Regions from separate parts of the Homo sapiens genome. Here all the other regions are linked to region 4. The links are contacts of gene promoters, found by promoter capture Hi-C in blood cells and fetal thymus (Javierre and others, 2016). All regions are on one chromosome and are shown on one strand. Each heading gives the region's core, a stretch centred on a gene start or on the middle of the fragment in contact. The rest is flanking DNA. Distances are from core to core; before and after follow the strand shown. Region 1 holds the start of SEL1L (SEL1L adaptor subunit of SYVN1 ubiquitin ligase). Region 2 overlaps SEL1L (SEL1L adaptor subunit of SYVN1 ubiquitin ligase). Region 3 holds the start of GPR65 (G protein-coupled receptor 65). Region 4 holds the start of FBXO33 (F-box protein 33).

Evidence for each region. The method cuts DNA at HindIII sites, captures the fragments that hold promoters and counts their contacts. A CHiCAGO score of 5 or more calls a contact.
Region 1: the fragment with the promoter of SEL1L here is called in contact with the fragment with the promoter of FBXO33 in region 4 in 1 of 17 cell types (non-activated CD4 T cells); the score reaches 5.2 in non-activated CD4 T cells.
Region 2: a contact is called between a fragment that was not itself captured here and the fragment with the promoter of FBXO33 in region 4, in 1 of 17 cell types (activated CD4 T cells). The highest score is 7.2, in activated CD4 T cells.
Region 3: the fragment with the promoter of GPR65 here is called in contact with the fragment with the promoter of FBXO33 in region 4 in 2 of 17 cell types (total CD4 T cells and total B cells); the score reaches 5.6 in total CD4 T cells.

What each region holds. Positions count from the first base shown.
Region 1 is chr14:81,532,096-81,535,487 of GRCh38, forward strand. It overlaps SEL1L (SEL1L adaptor subunit of SYVN1 ubiquitin ligase), which reads right to left and starts at 1,758. Exons shown (of 21, transcript NM_005065.6): 1 at 1,580-1,758. The coding sequence starts at 1,649. RefSeq lists an enhancer at 1,546-2,045 and a silencer at 1,762-1,881. The HindIII fragment of the contact is 11,079 bases long and covers 1-3,392 here.
Region 2 is chr14:81,470,461-81,474,074 of GRCh38, forward strand. SEL1L (SEL1L adaptor subunit of SYVN1 ubiquitin ligase) reads right to left here. Exons shown (of 21, transcript NM_005065.6): 21 at 1,087-3,614. Among named protein-coding and RNA genes, the nearest start is that of LINC02308, 22 kb to the left of the region's middle. RefSeq lists an enhancer at 66-125. The HindIII fragment of the contact is 1,016 bases long and covers 1,343-2,358 here.
Region 3 is chr14:88,003,155-88,007,097 of GRCh38, forward strand. It overlaps GPR65 (G protein-coupled receptor 65), which reads left to right and starts at 1,981. Exons shown (of 2, transcript NM_003608.4): 1 at 1,981-2,068. RefSeq lists enhancers at 2,396-2,565, 3,366-3,425. The HindIII fragment of the contact is 4,497 bases long and covers 1-3,943 here.
Region 4 is chr14:39,430,390-39,434,193 of GRCh38, forward strand. It overlaps FBXO33 (F-box protein 33), which reads right to left and starts at 2,044. Exons shown (of 4, transcript NM_203301.4): 1 at 1,175-2,044. The coding sequence starts at 1,773. It overlaps LOC105370461 (a long non-coding RNA gene), which reads left to right and starts at 2,050. Exons shown (of 8, transcript XR_007064121.1): 1 at 2,050-2,130. RefSeq lists silencers at 1,033-1,162, 1,603-1,732, 2,473-2,642 and an enhancer at 1,833-2,082. The HindIII fragment of the contact is 7,836 bases long and covers 1-3,804 here.

The DNA.
Region 1 (3,392 bases), core at 508-3,007, about 42 Mb after region 4:
TGATCTTCAAATATCTTTTCCACTGGCATGGAGCTCTAAGTATATAAAATGCAGTCAAAGACAGACAGCACAATTCCTATGCTTTAATTTTCTTTAAACTCTGCCAATTAAATTCAGAGGGATACACACCGTGCTCTTTCATTACTGTAGTTCTCTTTAGTGTGAAGAATCCCTCATGGAGATTGTTAATCTATGTATACCTGAGCTGTTCCAGACCTAAAACCCAATGTTTAACAAACCCATAAGAGGAATTCTGATGCAGGAGGTCCATGGTCCAGCAGGTACTCTACTCATTAAGCTCAACAGCTTCATTTCATGCTTTTTGATCAAATATTAAATAACTGCTAAAAGTGCTTCGAGAGTTAAGTATAGTCTAAAGATCTGGTCATTAACTCAAACCATCACTACTACTGGAGGGAGGGGAGTGGACCTGAAAGAATGATGTTGGCAGTAAAGTAATTAGCATAGGGTTGGTGCTTTTGAAATGGTATCTCAAACCACATCATGGATAGAATTTAGGTTTAAGCCTCTTATTTTAGAAGCAGAATGACGTTATGGCATTGATTTACAACTAGGACAGGTAATTTGGGGATTCAGATAACCATCTGGGAAATTTTCTGTTAAAAAAAAGCTGACATTTATTAAAAAAAGAAAAAGCTGACATTTATACTCCGTGTTGTCCCCCCAAAACGTCAAGCCACAGAACACCTGTCCTGTTAACTGAAACTGATTAAAATTCCAAAGTTTTACTGTACTAATTTTTATTTATCAACACTTAGAAACACGAAGTTTTCATGAACACTCTCAAAATGGAAATTTTCAAATGTAGGCAGATTAAAACATTAAAAAAGGGGGAAAAAAGCAGAACCAGAATAAACATTAGCTAACTGGAAAATCAATTCAAAAGCACACAAATTTCTGTATCTATATAAAACGCATCTTATAAGAACCAAGATTTTCCCAAACATCATAAAATGACTGTCAACAAACATGGGGCAACTCAGAAACACTGTGACAGGTCACCGCTTTCTCAGGAAGGTTTCAAAAAAGTAAAAAGTGGCTACGATGAGATCAAAAGTCTTCGTTTTTAAACAGACAGACCAGGGACCATCTCAGGTGTTAAGCAAACTACTGTCAACATCCTGGTCTGGATGGATCCTCCTCTGCCCCAAAGTGACAGCTCCAGGTTTGTCAATTATTTAACTTACAATTCCCAAGCCCAGAGTTCTAGACCAGACCCTTCCTCTACCCCAGGGTCGAGGAAGCTCCACTCGGGCTCCTGTATCAGGATTCATTCCTTTGGAGTCAATTCCGCGTTCGTGAGAAGAGTCGCGCAAAGTTTGTTACGTGGGAGAGAGGTGTGGGCAGGGTGACCGCCCCTTCTTTTTCCACCCCACTCCACCTTCCTAAATAGCCCCTTTGGCGCAGGCCAAGCAAAGCCAAAGAGCGAGTGACAGCCCAGTGCGAGATGTGCCCAGGGAGAACGGGGTCCCGAGCCTGGAGTCCCCACGGCCCCGCCGGCTGTAGAGGCTGGGGGGCGGAGGCTCTGGGCCTTCAGCCCGAGGGGGCGGATACTGACCCGAGGACGCCGAGGCCAAGCTCAGCAGCACCGCACACAGCAGCAGCGTCAGCCCTATCCGGACCCGCATCCTCCTCTCGGGGCCGGTGCCAACCCCTAGAGCTGTCGCCTTCGCCTCTGCCACCACGGACTCAGCCACCACCGCCGCCTCGCCGCTGCTCTTCCTGCTCTAGTCTCCTTCCTCCGCCCCTTCCCAGGCTTCCCTGACCCAGCGCGCAGCCAATCCCCGCCCGCCGTCGCGGGCTTCTGGTCCAATCACCATGGTCTCCCCGCCCACCCCCATTGCTCCGCCCCGGGGGTCATTCATTGGCCAATCATTGTACGAAGCTCCCACACCAGCTTTCTCGGTTGGACCACGACTCACGGACATGGCCCCAGCTAATTGGTAGCCCCTGGGTTCAACCGGAATCAGCGCGTGAGTCCAAGACTGGGAGAAAGAGGCTCATCCGAGACTACAATTCCCAGAATGCGCTTCATGTGATTAACTCGGGGGGTGCTCTTGGGAAACGTAGTCCATCGTAGGGCAAGATTTACAAGTGCGGGTGACTGTTGAAGTTAGAATTTAACTAACACCTGGGCTAAATATTAACTCAAGGCTATGGATTCACAAGCCTTTTTAAATTGACCCAAAATAAATATTAAGGAATAATTTTAAGAACTTGTAATGTGTTTAGCATCTTTTCCTGTTTTATTTAAAAAATTTAAATTGGGCATAGTGATAAGAGCACTGAGAAAAATGCCACAGCTAGTTGAATTTGAGGTGTTTTTTAAAACTTAGATAAAACAGTACCGTGAAGTACGGAAACCAGGGTGCAACTCAGTACCTGTCCTCCTTTCTCCGACAAAACAAAAGGAAATAAATCCGCTCGGCACAGATTATCTCAATACAGTATTTATTTTCACTAGGTTCACCAGACAATAATCATAAAGAAAATGTGCCAACAGCTTTGAAAAATTATTTTAAACACTTGTCCTCATCCTTCTCCTCTTGTGAGTTGCATTGTTCTCTTCTTTCCTAACTAAAGTCAGGAGACCAGGTTCACGTGTGTGGAGGTAGAGGTGATAGTGATTGCATCGCAGGCACGGAAATACTCTATGTAATAAGCACGAAATCCAGGCATGTTCCAACTGAGTAGCAGAGCAGTGACTTGGTGTGCCTGCCCTTTCTTTTCTCAAACCGTGTCATTCTGCTTTCCCTGTCATCCACCCACAGTCAGCTCTAAGGCCTAGAACCTAGTCCAGCCAAGTGAAGGACTTTGGAAAAGTCTCTGCTGGCCATGTGTCTTAACACTTCTGGGCATTTGTCTTCCTTCCTTTTTTTTTTTGTTTTTTGTTTTTTGTTTTTTGAGATACAGCCTTTTATTTTCAGGAAGATGGTAAAAAACCAACCACTGTTTCTCATTCACATCGGAGGAGATGAAGGAAAGAATTATCTCCTCCAAAAACTTGTCTTTTCAGCTACATCACCATTTCTGTCACTAACAATGTTCCCTCTGAGTTCCTCTGATTATAAATCATAGAGTAAAATCTGGTATATTTTCCTTTCTTTTTCATCTTATTGATAATCAAGTTCTATCAGTTTAAACTATGTAACTTTTAAATTGTTTTATTTTATTATGTACCTCTGTTCTCTTCCTCACTGAAAACTCCCCTAATGGCTTTCATTTTCTCTCACCTGGATGATGCACCTGAGTTCCAGCCATACTCACTGACATCATTCTCCCTTTAACCTGAATCACATATCATGGCCATATTAATTTTCCTTAAACACTGCTTTCATATGCCTATTGAAAATTTTCAATGGCTACACTTT
Region 2 (3,614 bases), core at 601-3,100, about 42 Mb after region 4:
TTTAATTACTTTTAAGTCTCAAATGAGTGATGAAATACAGATACCAATTACACAAACTTAAGGCTTCAATTACTTTTTCCTCCTTTTGAAATAAAGGCAGTTCTTTACAGGCCCAGTGTGGGTGCTTTCACCTACAGCACATACTTCAGCTACGGTCCAAAGAAGGCTAAAGGGAAAATACCGTGCTCTTCTCAGCTCTCGCGGTCCTGGAAGTAAATTTCCATGCACTGAAAGAAGTAAGATGGGCTGGGTACAGTGGCTCACACCTGTAATCCCAGCACTTTGGGAGGTTGAGGTGGGAGGATCGCTTGAGACCAGGAGTTTGAGACCAGCCTGGGAAACATAGGGAGACCCTGTTTCTACAAAAAATAAAAAAATAGCTGTCCGTGGTGGCACACACTAGTACTCCCAGCTATGCAGGAGGCTGGGGTGGGAGAATTTCTTGAGCCCAGGAGTTTTGAGGCTGCAGTGGGCTCTAACTAAGCCACTGCACTCAGCCTGGACAACAGAGTGAGACCCTGTCTCAAAAAAAAAAAAAAAAAATTTAAGATGTTAACCACAGAACATTGTCCAAATGATAGGTCAAAGAAAATACATGTACAGGTTAGAACAATTCAAGTAAATTCTTCATTAGTACTTAAGGGAAACAAAATCAGCTGGAAGGCTCCCCAACCCCTCACTACCATGCACTCACACACGCACGCACAGCCAGCGTTAGTCTCTACTCATTTCAGATTGCATTTAGAACAAAAAAAGTTCAATTAATCAAATTTTCCTAAGAAAAGCATCTACGAGCATGGCCACAGATGAAGGGTGAGGAAATGCAGGTGTGCAAACTCTGAAACCCACAGCTGGGCTTTCACATCCTGAAATAAATCTGTTTCCAAGAACAGAGATTTCTGTTGCCCACGTTTGAATCTTGAATCGTGTAAAACTCAATGACATATTCATTTTCGAAGTTAGAATCCTTACTTGGGATACCTGAATCTCTTATCTCCCAAGACTTATGAGACATTCTTTCCAAGTCCGAGAGGTGAATTAACGAGGTTATACTGGGCGGTAGAGAGGAGGCAGTGGGAAACCGGATTGAGCAGCAACAAATTATTTATATGAACATTCCAAATTCAGTTAACTAACCACATTCCACTCAACTTACATGAGAAAAAATTGTGTGGTTTTTAGAAATGGGATTTAATATACAATTCAGCATTAACATTGTTATGTTTAAAAGAAATTAACCCAGATAAAAAGAATTTGGCCTCTAGGGAAAATCAGAGTTCTACTCAAAATATAATACTACCAATAAACTACTAGCATAGTGAATTTTCAGGATCTAATTAAAAGCTTGTTCAATTTGATGGCGAAGTAGTGACGTAAGTGACATGAGAAGGAACGTACAAAGCCCATTACACAGCAGTACCTCCTTTTGAACTGATTAACGCTCACTTTTTCTTATTCGTAAAAAAATACCCAAAAAGTAAAAACTTTCCTTTTTATTTTTCGTAGTTTCTACTACAGAAATTCTGATTTTTTTTACTTGCATCTAATTTGTGTATCTGCTGTAACTTAATCTAAGCATACTTCCAAGCTGGTATAACCAACCTAAACTAGCATCATAAAGGAAGTTAGGAAAGAGGCTGTAGCTCATCAAGTTGCAGCCAATGAAGATGGAGGACATTCTAATGACTTGCCAGAAAGAGGCTAAGTGGTGAACAGGCAGGCATTGCCCCAGGTTGGATGGTCACCTGCTGGTGTTAAGGCTCTGACATCCGACTTCCCCCACAACTTTTAGGTCAGTCAAGGTCATCTGGGGTCACTGACTGTGCTCCCACAAGTACAATTTGAGATCTTGAGATCTGACATCTCAGTTGCCACAGTTTGCATCATGTAGGCTTTTTATCCAAGATCCAATGCTTCTGAGCTGGAACATTTTACCTCAGTTACCTCTTTGAGTTGCCTGCTGGGAAGCTGGGGGCCAAATTTGTAGCCCACTTCCAATTGCACTTTGTGTACATGTTCACTCTTGATTTAATATTTTTTCATTTCTCCTTTACTCAGAGCATATTTAGTCTAAATGTTACTGTGTGGTACGTGTCTCTGCAAGTCCTCTTAAAAAATTCCTGGGACAAGGCAATGCATAAACAAACTTTAGATAAATAATATTATAATCAGGCTAAAGTGAATCACGCTTACTACATATCAAGGCTGCTTCAAGACAAAGATATCAGAGATTTAAAAGATAACATTTCTTAGCAAATTCATGTTCTCCCTAGGGCAATATTGGACTTGTAAAAATCTGAATTTCAGGAGTTTAAAATGAAAGATAAATTCAAATTGCCACAAGTGAATGTTTTCAGAAGCTTCTGAATTTCCAAAAAACATTAAAAAATTGAATCATTCAGCTTAAAAAAAGTCTGTCTGGAAAGGTGCTTGGTTGTGGTATATTACAGCATACAGGATAACCAGAGGTGGAATCTTTATTTCACAAGTTTCAAGATACAGTACAAAACGATTCTGTACATCTCTCTATTAACAGGATTTGTTTACACAATTATATTACACTTCACCAACCTTTATACTGCATTTCATTAAATACAAAATACATTTACAAAAAGAGTCTACCATGGTGTTCCTTCACAATGCCAGCTTAAGGTCTTTTAAAACTTCCTCTTCTACATATTTATAGTGGTTACATCTTGATTATATCAACATTATGAGTTTTATGAGTTTATTTTCTAATCAAAGAGAATAGTGTCAGCCTGTTTCTCAAACCAAATAGGAAAAACAGCATGTGAGATGATTCCCTGCACATAACCAAGGAATCCTTTTCATGCACACAACATTGGACTTTTACTTGTGCAGTCACTTTAACATACAAATCATCTTTCCTTGGGATCGTTTTAAATTTTCTTGAAATACCAAGTGGGTGGAGAGCTTCTTTTCAATGAATACCACACATTTAAAATCCAGATCGTGCCTCAGGCATTCAGGAGTGTTATATTTTAATTTATATTTGAGAGTGATGACTGATGAAAAATATTTGCATGAAAATAGAAATTTTCTTTTGTTCTGATCATTTCTTACATACTTCTAGTCATAATAATGTGTAATACATATATATATTATGAGATTCACTTTCAAAACAAATATCAGCTGTCACTGAAATATAGCCCTGCTTGTCTTGGCAGGTAAAGGGGCTGTTTTCATGACACATCTTGTTTTGAAATGTGCATGTGAAATGTTAGTCCGAACCTCTGTAAAGGAAGTTTTTGCGTATGTAGTTAGACATTAATACACATGCTATACACATAAAGAATTGTGTTTTTCATTTATAGGCCTGCATGCATACTTCCAAAACACTGGTTTGAAGAATGAACATGAGGATAAAAGAAGGGAGAGAAAGACAAAGCAAAATAAAAAAAAATTCCTATATATATATTAATAAAATACTTAAGTTTCCTGGAGGCATCAACGGCTCTTTAAATAAATCATCAGATCATCACCAGATCACTGGCAGGGGTTTCCAAAACTTCCCAACAGTACAGAGACAGAATGGCTTAGTGGTAAGACTCTCACATGTAAGGTAAAAATTAACCTAATATGCAAAAAAGTAA
Region 3 (3,943 bases), core at 731-3,230, about 49 Mb after region 4:
GACCACAGAAAACCAAATAATTGACTGGTCAGAAATGCCAACCCCGTTAAGGCAGTGTTCTGAATAACTACTAATTGTCTTTATCTCATTGTTATGTTGTTAAAATGTCACAGTGACTCAATGATTTAAAATTTCTAACCGTTCATTATAAAAGATAGCCCTATAGTTGAAAATACAGTATTGCCATATTTTCCATATTAAGAAGCAAATTTCTTAAAAGCTGGTAAATTTCTTATTGTGTAGAGTTGGCAAGGTTTTAGCATAGGTCAGCTCCAGCTTTTTCTCCTCTTTAATCAGAAGTGAAAGTTTGTGTTTCTTATGTTTCTTAATGATAATCTTTTTCTTTTGAAAAGCAAAATACATGAATATTAGATATGGACATGAAAATACCCTTTCCCTAAAAGCAGAAGTATAGTCTATTCAGATAAAGTAAGAGATCATCAGAGTAATGAAATACCTACGTAACAATGCACTTGTACCCCGAACTTAAAAAAAGATATATCATGTATAGAAACCACAGATAAGCAGATGTACGAAACCAAGCAAAAATGAGAACTTTGAATTACAGTCACAAGTAAACTGAAATCGTTACTTTTCATTTTTGTAAAACTTCAAGACATTTATTGTTAATTTTTTACTTTATACTTAATTTTTATTATTTCAGTAACAATATATTGATTTATAATTTACTATATGCTAAATTACTTTATAAACTATCCTGTGCTTTATAAATGTAAGGTATTAGTTTTATTATTCTCAAAGAAAGACCTACAACGGAAGTATTGAAAATCTTTACATTCCTGATATACCCTGATCAACTTCAATATGGAAAGCCTTGCTTATATACAGGCTAATCTTTTCTATCTCTGGGTAGGGAGAAAAAAACAACAAAAAAAAAACACCAGCAACAACCCTTAATGTCCTTTAACAAACACAGATTCAAAATGTCCTGATTACATCTTTAAAATTAAGTCAAATGTTTTCATCCCAAATAAATTCTGTTCTTTCAAATAATATTTTCCCTTCATTTCTAATAAAAGTTTATGAGGGCAAGATTCAAAAGTGATATTTCTGACTTTTTTATATATCAATAGTAAGAAAGTTATAGGAGCTAATTTCACTTCATATTAAACCACTTATAGATTTGGCATTAACTTTAACTTGCTAAAGTACAAGAGTTTTTATAATAACAATGTAAGTCTTAAATAAAATTTTCAAGTTTCATAAAATTATTTGTCTCAGCTAGTTAATTCAACTGGTTTTTAGCCATCTCTGTTTCCAAGAGGAGAGAATCAAAGGAGAAAATAGTTCTACAATCAAATACTATATATCTAATCCCATTAGTCTCTCAAAAAAAAAAAGAAAAGAAAGACGGTATGAGGTTGGCTACCTTAACCCCTGCCTTAAGCAGCACAATATCCATCATTAAACCCCTCAGCCTCAATTCTCCCTTTTCTGTTTTTGTCCCAGGAACTTTATCACCCTGAATCTACCTACAATATCCTCCCCTATCTCACACATCCAAATGGTTCATTCTATTTTATCTGTACCCCTCTTGAAGTACTTCTTCATTTTGCCATTGCATTACAATCATTATTAAACATGTCTTTCTCCTTTACTAGGTAAAAAAAGCTGCTTTTGGTTGATAGCCAGTTCGTATACATCTCCCCGCACACTGCTGGCATGATGAGTGAATGAATGAATGAATGAATGAATGAACAAAGAAATAAATAAAATATTTAACATATATTCCATTAAGTAAAGGGCATATAATATAATATCAGTACATACTTGTAATTAAGATGCAATGAGACAAGTGAGTTATAAAAATTACAGTACAGTAAACAATAAATAAAAACATCTTTAAAAGTATTTAAGAGACTTTTTTTGTTCAAACTTGGATAACGCACACCCTTCTCATTGAGATGCTGCTTCCTCATTGGTTTGTGCTGAAATATGAGTGCAATTTCCTGTCCCCTCAGCAGTGTTGGTTTCTCTTCTTGACTTGATGCAGGCACAGATTTATCAAGCTCCTCAGTCAACAAACACATCACCGGAAGAAATATGGGTAAGTATAAGATTAAAAAATAAAATAATATTTTAAAGTAGATAACATGCTTTGGCATAATTGTCAGTGATGTTCGCAACATTCTTCCTGGTTTAGGCTGTATAAATGTGGTAATGCAAAGCATGATAAGAGAGAAAGAAATGAGGAAGACACATGGTTTCCTCTACTTTGAGCAGTGGTAAAGGGCCAAACTTTAAATTTAGAACTAATTAGGCAAAACCATAGATATAGAAAAAGGGGGTTGTTCATACTTTATTTTCTTTTCAGGAAACAGTGCTTTGGCAAACTTCATTCAGTATTAGGAAGAAGCCTACCAGCCCCTGGCTTTAGAGCTATCTGGCACCAATCCCTCATCTGTACAATGGTCCAGTAAATACTTTTTATATCCATCAGAAAAAAATGTGATATTAGGAAAGAATATTTCCAGTATTAATAAATGTCAAGTAATAATTATTAGTTAATAAGTGACTACCACAGTGCCTGAAATATATAGTAGAGTCTTAATAAGTAACTATTAAACTGATAGATGAAAGCAAGCATTTTCTATAACACTGTAGGAAAATATTGTACTTTTGGTCATCGTCATCAATGATTTGTACTATTTTTAGATCTGTTCAAGAATAGATATACTTTAATATACTGTAGATTGTCTTTTTTGACATCTGGTAAAAATTAAAAAATTAAAAACTCACCAAAATTTCTCAGTGCTTGTTCTAAAAACAATTTTCTCAAAATTTGATTAAAGGAGGCAAAATAATATCTGAAAAGATATGTGAATACTGTAATAGGAATTATATACAGTATTCCACTAAAATCTCAGATCCACCCAAATTAAATGAACAACTATTATCTGCAGAGCCTAGTATTATACGTGAAGTGTTACCATATAAATTACACTCTGAGCACCTCCAGCTTTTCTGCTATGCTGTGGCTAGATGACTAAAGATGATTTCTTTTCAGAAAATGTAGGGGACAGCACAAAGATTGGTGCAGACTACCAATGTCATTAAAACAATATTACCAGCTAACGTACAGTGAATGCCTCCCATGTGCTAGGAACTTTGCTTCATATGTCGTTTCATTTAACCCTCACAACAATCTTAGAAACTGGGTACTAACTTACACATGTGAAAACTGGAACTTAGAGAGGTGAAGAAACACCAATGGGCCCAGAGTGCTGTTGAGAGGCATTCGAATTGTCTCCAGAGCCCACGCTCTTAACCACAAGCCTGTACTGCCTCTGCGTCACTACAAAGAAGAGGGCCTCTGCTTCATCAACCCATCCTGTCTTGTGGTTAAGTCAAGGCAGGAAATGCTTTTACAGCTAGAGAAATGTATTCCATTGAAAACTTTATAAACCTTTCTAAAAATCATTTTTTCATTTAATCTGTCATACCATTTTTAAAGAAAATGATGACTATCTATTGAGTAACACGGACAAAGGAGGAAGAGGCACATGCTGCCCATTACCCGACTTTCTCGGTCCTGGTCTTAAGGGGAGGATGTTTTCATGGTTCAGGTGTTCTTCCCAAGACACATGAGCCTGGTGTTGGACGTGTTGTGTGTGCATCAGAGTCCCATCCGCGGGGGCTGATTCAATCTTCCTGCATCGCAGACATTACCCTAGTGTCCTTTTCCTACTTCAGTTATATCCTTTAGAAGTTTCTTTAGTGGGGATTTTGGATGTAAATGTTCTGAGTGGTAGTTTACCTGAAAATGTCCTAATTCTTGCTCTGGTCCTTGAAATTTAGTTCTGTTGAGTATATAATTATAGGATGACATATATTTTCTTAGCAATTTGGAACTTTTAATCTTCTGCTGTCTGTTATCGCTGTTGAGAAGTCTTTTGTCCGTCTAAATTCCATCCTTCATAGG
Region 4 (3,804 bases), core at 794-3,293:
TTATATCTATATATATCTCCTAGCATTAAACCAGGGACTGCTCTCAACCTTGTTCAACATAATGTTCAGTATATTTACTGCAAAAGGACACGCTTTCGGAGAAAAACAATGCCGTACAGCAATGTGCAAATCACTTGATCCTATAAAGGGTCAGTTTCCTTTCTGTAAAACAGGGTTATTTATCATTACCCTGCCTCATAGTGCCACTGAGAGGCTCAAACAACACAGTGAATGTGAAACTGCTGAAGTATTTTTACTATGTAAGGTGCTCCTTTTGTGAACGTCTAAACTTTCTTCTAATAAGAGCTTTACTGTAAGGTTCTTTAGAATATCCATATAAAGAAGATCTAAATTAATAGGGTTTTGGAGGTGGCGATGGAGAAAAATGATGATTGGGAGGGATACTGGGTCAGAATATAAGGCGTTAGTTCTGGAATTACAGTGAAGTCCTGATGCAAAACCAGAACAGTTATGTGCTTACCCTCTGCAGACCCTGGCCAACTCCCTCGCTGCCCGCCCGCCTCCTCCGCCCGACTGTTACTTTTAGGTGAACTACTGGGGAGAAGTTGAGTGTGGTGGTGTATGGGGAGGGACTTTCAACCCTGAAGATCAACTTCTTCCCCAATCCCTTTAACAAACACTCCTCCTCCTCTTCGGGCCTTGTTCAGTTAGCCGAAACTATTTCTGGTAAGAAAATGGCTGTTACAAAATTTCTTTTAGGCAGCGTCCTATGAGTACCTACTCCTTCCCTCACCATGAACTATTTCTAACAGATTCAGAGTCAGAAAATCGTGTTATGTGTATGTTTTGTTTCTTCCAAGGCTCACCCACAGGCCTCACCCTCCCAGTCTTAACGCTCCCATATATAAAATGAAAAGTGACAGCGCCTGTCAGCTCCATCCCACGGCCACCAAGAGGATGAATGAGTGCCTGGAAGGCGCCAGAAGTGGTGTCTGTTAAACACCCCGTCCACCACTGTTTATAAAGTATCGTGATGAGTCCCGTTATGCCTTTCCGCTCAAGGAAACCGCCTAGTTAGAACCAACACTCTCCGTCACTGAGGAAGGCAACACTGAAGTTGGCCGGGCACGTATTATGCACAGAATCTGTGTCGGGGTGCGGGGACGGAGCGACCCCCCGTTACCGGGCGGGGCGGGGCTCAGGGCAAGCCTACCTGTTGTTCCGGATGCTGACCAGCACGCAAAGCACCAGCTCCAAGTAGGTGCGCAGCACTTCCAGCCAACGAGCTGAGAGCTGCAGGGCCTCGACTTCCTCCCCTCCAGTCCCGGTGTCCGCGCCACCTCCGTCCCCTGGGCCACCGCCGCTCAGATAGTTCTCGGCGGCGAATTCAACACGCAGCTCTCGCACGAACCAGCCGCACTTGCGCATGAGGAATTCCAGCCGAGGCTGCTCCGCGGGCGAGACGCGGAGGCAGATGCGGAGCTGGGGCCACAGGGCCGGATAGAAGAGGCACTCACGCCAGTGCGAGCAGGAGGCCGAGGCCCGCAGCCGGTCGGGCGCCGGCAGAAAAGAGAAGATGTGCACGATCAGCTCGCTGGGCAGCGACGCAGCGCCCGCCGCCTGCCCGCACAGAGCCATCCGGCCCCGCCGCCGGCTGCCGGCTCCCGGCCGCCCCCGCAGTACCCGGAGCAGCCCCCGCAGCCGTCGCAGCTGCTGCAGCCGCAGCCGCCGCCACCGCGCCACCCGGGCGGCCCCGGCTCGGGTTCGAGCTCCCGGCGGTCGGGGCTGCGGCACTGACAAGAACAACAACATCAATGACTAGGAAGAAGGGGGCGGAACCGTCGTGGGTCTCGGCGGAACCAAGTAGAACACAAGTTGTGGAGAGGGGGAAAGGCCTCTGCGGGCGTGGCCTGCCGGGAGCCAGCCTCTGTCTTCTCAAACTCTACTCACGTGCGTCCGAGGCCGGCACACTGAGTAACTGCACTGCCCTCGCTCGTAAACTTCAGCGGCCCGGAAGCCTCAAGGCGTACTGTAAGGAAAAGGCAGCCCTCCCTGCGCCGGTCGGCAGAGACAGAGAAGTGGTAGGAGCTGAGTTTGACGTCGCCGCTGGTGGGAGGAGTCCGGCGCGCACCGGCGCGACTTCCGGAAGAGGGGAGCGCCCGATTGCCTGTAGGGACGGGAGGCGCGGCACGTGATCTCTGACGCACGCAGGCCGCGGGGCGGGGCGGGGCTGGGCGGGGCGGGGCGGGGCGGGGCTGGGCGGGACTGGAACCGGCACTTGGCACCCCTTACGCCTTACGGTGGCCGCTGCGCCCAGTCACATCTGTAAGTCGGTTAATTTTGGCGCTCGGTCGATGGAGGTGGCGGTACTCTGGTTTAGTGCGAAAGGTCGTCACGCTTCTTTGTAAAACGTTTCTCAGTTTGGGCTGAGGACCCTGAGCCAAAGTGGCGGCATGCAGGGTCTTTCTCAGCCATCCCACCTGCCCAGAGTAGGGTTAAGAATTCCTGAGATTGCGCCGCTGAGAGGGAGCTGGCGGACGGGCGGGCTAACCCCGGCGGGCTGTGCCGGGAGGGGCGGTGTGGGGCGTGGCGGAGGCCGCGAATGGACCTGCCCCCTCGGTCCAACCACGCAGGTGGACTTCCGCGCACTCGCTGGTGTGTGGGGAAGCAGTGAGGACAGCGTCACCCTTTGGATTCAGAGGGAGAGAAAAAAATTGGCAAAGGGATCTGAGATCCGCAGGTTGTGACCAGCCTCTTCTCCAGGGCTTGAGGAAGGGTCTCTTTTCCCTGTGCTGAGATTTAAGGCTCTCGTTGAAAAGTTCACAGTAATGACAGAGCTTTGATTTTTTTTCTTTCTTCTTCTTCTTTTTTTGCCTGGTATCCCTAACTTAGATTTTCCAAACCATGTCCCTAACTTCACCACAGCCTACTGCAAAGTAAACTCTGGTTGCAAAGAGTGGTGAAGTCAGAAAAGATTAAGTGACTTTATGTAATAATCGAGGGTTGCTTTAGGGAGGCTGCCTCTTTATGTAATAATTGAGAGTTGCTTTAGGGAGGCTGTGATGTTGGAATAGCATCGTTCTTTTGTGGTAAACACCAAGACTTTTTGGACTTTTTTTTTTTTTTTTGGTTTTAAGGAGCGGAGAATTTAATAGGCAAGAAAGAAGGAAGAAGGCTGAAGGAAGAAGCTCCCCACTACAGAGACAGACGGAGGGGGCTCCCAAGACGAAAGAGGAGACCCCCATTCTAGATGTTCTTAACCCTTTGAGGGCAAAGCTCTCCGTTTAATGCCTTGCACATATCAGGTTGCCAACAACATGGTGTGGTTTATCAATTGTGATAGGTTACTTATTCGAGCCCCTGTTTACAAGAGTTTTAGGTAATTATACCTTATTAATTTTAATGAACTCTTAGAGGGCGACCCCAGTCGTGGGTTCGGCAGGATGAAACACTACCCATTTACCAGTTTACAGACATTTAGGTCGTTTCGAGTTATGAATAATGCTGTGAACATTCATGTGCAAGTCTTTATGTGGACGTATGTTTTAATTTGTCTTGGGTAGATACCTAGGAATGAAAGTGATGGGTCGTAGGGTAGTTCTATGTATAACTTTTTGAGAAACGGAAACTTTTTCCAAAGTGGCTGCATCATTTTTCATTCCCACCAGCCATGTATGAGGGTTTCCAGTTCTCTGACTTTTTTTTTTTTAATATTCTAGAAATGCACTGTAATTTGAGATTGATATTTTTTTCTTAGCATTTTGCTAGCAACAAGCTACCATCTTGGAGATCATTAATAATTAGTCTTTAATTATTAGGAATGGTTCCTGAGTAAAATGAAAA